Regions from separate parts of the Homo sapiens genome. Here region 1 is linked to region 2. The links are contacts of gene promoters, found by promoter capture Hi-C in blood cells and fetal thymus (Javierre and others, 2016). All regions are on one chromosome and are shown on one strand. Each heading gives the region's core, a stretch centred on a gene start or on the middle of the fragment in contact. The rest is flanking DNA. Distances are from core to core; before and after follow the strand shown.

What was found. Contacts are between HindIII fragments. The CHiCAGO score rates a contact against its expected background, and 5 or more counts as called.
Region 1: a contact is called between a fragment that was not itself captured here and the fragment with the promoter of SPTA1 in region 2, in 1 of 17 cell types (erythroblasts). The highest score is 5.8, in erythroblasts.

Annotation. Positions count from the first base shown.
Region 1 is chr1:158,830,236-158,833,221 of GRCh38, forward strand. It overlaps MNDA (myeloid cell nuclear differentiation antigen), which reads left to right and starts at 1,116. Exons shown (of 7, transcript NM_002432.3): 1 at 1,116-1,322. It also overlaps a transcript of OR6N1 not described here. The HindIII fragment of the contact is 873 bases long and covers 1,239-2,111 here.
Region 2 is chr1:158,685,432-158,688,333 of GRCh38, forward strand. It overlaps SPTA1 (spectrin alpha, erythrocytic 1), which reads right to left and starts at 1,284. Exons shown (of 52, transcript NM_003126.4): 1 at 1,063-1,284. The coding sequence starts at 1,086. The HindIII fragment of the contact is 3,907 bases long and covers 1-2,902 here.

The DNA of each region.
Region 1 (2,986 bases), core at 425-2,924, 150 kb after region 2:
AAGCATCAGCATAAGAGAGAAACTGAAACAATGAACACCCACATGTGTTAGTGGCTGTCATTCTAGATCCTCTTGGTTTTTTCTGATTTACCCTGCTTTAGTGGGGTTTAGACAGTTTCCAAATCCAAACTTTAACTCTCTCTATGCTGCTGGTTTGGATTAAGACAATCAGCTTTATTCTTCTCTGTAGATGGCCTTGGATCATTTTCCCCTATTAGCTGTTTTGGGATCCTTTTCCAGTCATGACCACATTTTGCTTACAGATCAGCTAGTTGGTAACCACAGCACTGTCTGCTAACTGATACCATTCATTTGACAATTCAGAGTTATGATACTTTGTAGTGCACCCACTGTTCTTCACAGGAAAAAAAAATTGCAGTACAAAGGGTTTATCAGGCCCCCTATCATTCCAGAGTTTCAGTGCTGTTCCAGAATGTTCAAGGTTTCAGTCATGATATGAACCAACTATCCATAAATAATGCAAAAAGCATGAGTAATCATGAATTTAATAATCAAGGTAAGGCAGCTCAGTTATTATACTCAAGAGAGCAACTAGTATGAAACTCTTTCAAATTATTTGAATAAGGATTTACATATTCATAATGACTTTCTGCCTCTGTCAAGCTCCAGGTGTATCAGTTATTAATAACTGGGTGAATATGTAGGTACTATTTAAACAAAAACAATTTCACAGTAGACCCACCCCTATCCAAGAGATGAAGTCAAGTTCTGGTAGCAATAGACATCTCTACCAAGATCTCCTGCTCCTGCCACTCTGTGAACAGGAAAGGAGGGAGAAACTTTGGTGTTTTGCCTTTCCCAATTTATATTAAGATCCTTATTCAAGCGGCTACCGGTTTCTAATGACCTATATGTAAGTTAGCTTTATAAGAAAGTTCTGAGTTTGAAACTCCTTTCAGCAAGTATTTGTAAGTCAAAAAAGCGAAGAAGAGGCACCATTTACTGTCATTTCTCCTTGTGACTGAGATTACTTACTACAAAGAGGAACTGACCACTTTCTCTGACATCTGAAATAGAAAGCTACAAAGGCTGATAGGCGTGGCTTCAAAATTGTTTCATGATTACATAACTTCTTTCTAGTTAGGAATTAGGACAGTGTAAGAAGGCCATCTACAATCAAGATTGAGAGTGGCTCTAACAAGTGCCATTTTTCCTTGTTAGCTTTCATTTCTCAGCCCTTTACAAGATTAAAATAGTCTGCAGTTTAATCTCTCCAAAGCTTTACGGACAGTGATTCTGTCCTAAACAAGACAGTGACTCCAGGATTTCTGAAGACTATTGTGGAAGAAGCATCCATTAAGGTGAGATTTCTGGGAAGTTCTTTAGAGAAAGATCTAGGTATCTAGTTGGTAACCACACCATCTCAGTAGAGAATAATTGCCTGAGACCAGAAGTGTTGTTATCAATCATATTCAGAAAACTGAGAACTGAATGCTTTAACTGTCTAGGTAGCAAATGGATATCTTTTATTCTACCACAATTGGGGTATGAACCAAAAAAATGTATTTTGTCTACAGCAGGTTTTAAAAATTAATTCTTGGGTGTCTTTTGGCATAAATTGATATTTAGAGGAGATACTTGGTTTTCTTGGCTGGAGGATGACTTGGTGACTGGGTTTGGGCCTAAGTTAAAAGACAAGACAGTCAGATAAGAAAATTATTATGAAGTAATATTTAGTAAAAAATAAACCAGGATATAAATCTCTATTATATGATTTTATCTCTATTTTAAAAAGCATAGACATGTGCACACATTAATTTCTCAATTTTACAAGCATTTACTCAAAAATAATCTTTACATTTTCATGAATCAGTTTCATTTTATGCTTCATTTTACAACAAGTGTAAGAAGAAATAATTCTCTTTTTCAAATGGTCTATGCTTTACTCAGTCATAGATAACATTTTTTGTGGCAAGGTATAATGAAAAGACAGGGAGAATCAATTATATATTTCCTACTTTGGGATACATTTTGACTTTTTTATGGCTTTGTACATATGAATGTTTTCTAATTACTCCATGAGTACTTGAGAAGAGTTTATAAACGTTGGATTCCAAATTCTATTTAAGTAAGATAAAGTTTCTTAAGTAAGCTTGTTAATTATGTTTGAAAAATCTAAATCTAAATCTAAGCTATTTTTTACCTTGTTCTTTCAGTAACTGAGAGATGTGGTGAAATCTCCAACTCTAATAGTGATTTTGTTAATTTCTCATTGTAGTTCTTTTGATTTCTACCATATATTTTTACATAGAATATGTATATCTAAGTATATATGTTATGTGTGTGTTTAGAGAGAAGAAAAAACTTCTATATGCTACTTTATAAAGTAATAACAGATTATATTTATAATATAATTTAAATTATTATATCTTTTTCCAAGTTGCATACTTTACCATTATGTAGTGAAACTATGTACTGATACTTATTGACTTAAGCCTATTTTAAGCTACACTATTTTTCCTAAAAAGTCTTTCTTTAAGTTAGAGTTTGAAGAATATAACTTTTCCAGCTCTTTCTCAAACTTAAGTGAACTTATGCTTTATTTGTACTTTGTCAACAACATATGACTGGATTTATTTTTAATCCAAATTGAAAATTTTTCCTCCTAGTTGATGAGTTTAGTCCAGATATGCAAATTCTATAAAGGTATATATTTTAACTTGGTTTTGCCATCTTACTTTGTTTCAATTTATAGCACTTATTCTGTGCTTTCTTCTTCTCCTTTCTTGTCAAGTTTCTTATTTTTAAAAAATCTATATTCTCCTTAAAGACAAGCCCCTTAGCAAACTCTCACATCTTCTGGTCCCCCAAACATACAACTTCACCTGTTAAGAGTATGTTCATATAGTTCCTGTTTTCTTTTATTTGACTCTGGCTTTACTTATTTTTAAGATAGTAAAAACACTAATTAAAGTATTTGCTTGATCTTTCTTCCCTTTTGGCCTCCAACATTTCTTAGATTTAT
Region 2 (2,902 bases), core at 34-2,533:
ATGTTGGACCTATATTCAGATATCCTGAAGTTTCTAGGGACTATTGTCAGAAGAGCTGTAGTATATTTACGTAATTTTTAACCAGACATAGCTTCTGTTTAGGTTAAAAATTCTTGATTATCCAGAAGACTCTCCTCACTTTTTACATAAATTTGTGCTAGCATTTAAGTTCTATAGATATAATTATATTGGACTGATCATGGAGCAAGTTTAAATCAGCAAAATCACATAATTTCAGATAGATAAAAAGAAATATAATGTTATTGCTTTCAAGGGCTAAAAAGGTGTTGAGAAGTGCTTATTATTTTTAACTTAATTTAATAAATAATTAAGAATGGCTTGCAATTAATTTAGTTAATGATATATGCAACAGTTTGAAAATTTTGTTTCCTTCATACTTAAAAATAAATCTCATATATTTACTCTTTACTTGCTTTACTCACAAACACTATAAATCAAAAGTTCAGCTATCTTCTGCCCAATTGTCACAAATTTCAAATTATTAGCATGTCTGCAATTTATTTTTGAAATATAAAAACTTTTACTCTAAAACAATATATAAGTATCCTTTTCCCAGAGTGGGAGCCAACCTGTTTGTGACAATATCCAGCAAAATCACCATAGGGTTCACCTTCATTCTTCTGGATATGGATACCATTTTCCCTAGCTTACCTCAGCCAAAATGTTTAATATAGAGTTTAAATTTTAATCTCCCATTATTCCTCCTAAGTATAATTGCTACTCTGTGAATTGCCATTACTGGCATGGCTATAGAATTAGATCATTACATGGAGACTCACGTTGTTACTAGGTGTTATTTAGCTTCAATCTCCCTACTTATTCTCTCTGGGAACCGACTTAAGTCATTACTGGGTCTTGGTGCTGCACAGACATAAGCTCAAGGTTATTGTTCACAAAAAATAGTTAAAAGTAAAATTATCTATTTGTTAAAAGCCAAATAATTATTAATGTTCCTGGGAAAGATAGTATAGAAAGTTTAAAGGAAACATCTTTCCTAATAATATTAATGACAAATTGCATGGAAGAGAAATATGTACTTACGGTTTCCTTTGGAAATTGCTCCATTTTTCCTAAAGGTTTAGAACCTGGCAAGATAAAATGTGTCAGAGAGAGAGAGAGAGAGAAATAATTCAAATGGAACTGTCCAGTCGAATTCAAATAGAAATATAGAAACGTTAAGTATGTGGGGGAAAAAAAAAAACCTCTTGCTTGGTCCTAGAATCCCATCAGCCATACACAATCGACATTATCTTTAGAAGACATACTCAGCTGAGGCAACTGCTAAGTTTTACAGATACTGGGTGACTCAGCAGTTTTGGGAGGCTCTGGCTTTCAAAGTTACTCAATAAGACTTAAAAAATGAAAGTAAGGTTTTTGGATGAAAAATTAGAAAAAAAACCCCATATATTTATAGGAAATACAGCTCAACAACTTCATCCAACTCAACTGCAGATTTTTCACAGTCTTTAAGTCAACGAATTATCCTGGCTTTTTCTAGAGAGTCTTTCACAAAATAAGATTTTATTCCTAACCTCAACAATTTGGTCTTTAAAAATCTGATTTAGTTGTACTCTTAATCATTTAAATGGAAGGAACAAAAAAAGTTATATGATGTGTTCATTAATATTTTGTAAAACAAAAATTAGGATACCTTATTTGACAAACCAATGATGTCACAAAAAAGTTGAAAATATGGCTGACTTCTGATATATATGGTATAAATCATCCTACTGTATGTATTAATTTTAATGGAGAACAAAAAGAGGTAGACTTTTTCCATAGGCATAGTTATTTTAGACTAACTTACAAAAATGAAACAAACAAGCAAAAAGAAAATAGTGGGATGCTCTTAGACCTTTCTACAAGCCAGTGGGGCTATCCATGCCAAACTTCATTCCAGTGTAAATGCAGCTTGAATAATCTAACTTCCATGATCTACAAGAGAAGATTTTGATTCTACATTTGTGGTTTCCCCTGTTCTTGGATCTCACATAGAAAAACTGAGAGTCCTTTACATTCTCTTCTTGAAAGTCTGGATTACTTTACTTTTCCATATAGTTTCATTATATTCAAGTCAAATTTAGTAGTAAAGGCAGGAACATAATTTTAGAGACTGCACTATAACACATGCACTGAGGAATATTTGTCTGAAGTTGGGATAAGGAGAGGAAATTATTTTATCTTTAAGAGAAAAGAATCAACATCTATGAAATATTTATATATTAACATGATCAATTTACATTAATTTCTAATCTTTAAAAATTCTGTGAGGCAGGTATTATCATACCCGTCTTTATGTGAGAAAACAGTCCCTAAAAAACAAAGTTTCATTCTATGGTGATTTGGTTTGAAAGTATTTAAATAGTCAAATCCATATCAATATGATTATCATGGCACTCTGCTCCTTATTTTTTTAGTCAATCTTCTCTTAGTCCATCAACATTATTTGTTCTGTTTCCCTGTTCCAGAATCATCTTAGCAAGAATGCCAAACATGTGATAACCTTGTGACCAAAGAAATAGTATGGCCCATTGTGAATAGTGCCACAATATACATATGTGTGCATGTGTTTTTATAGTAGAATGATTTATAATCCTTTGGGTATATAGCCAGTAATGGGATTGCTGGGTCAAATGGTATTTATGGTTCTAGATCCTTGAGGAATTGCCACACTGTCTTCCACAATGGTTGAACTAACTTACACTCCCACCAACTGTGTAAAAGCATTCCTATTTCTCCACATTGTCTCCAGCATCTGCTGTTTCCTGACTTTTTAATGATCGCCATTCTAACTGGCATGAGATGGTATCTCATTGTGGTTTTGATTTGCATTTCTCTAATGACCAGTTATGATGAGCTTTTTTTCATATGTTTGCTGACT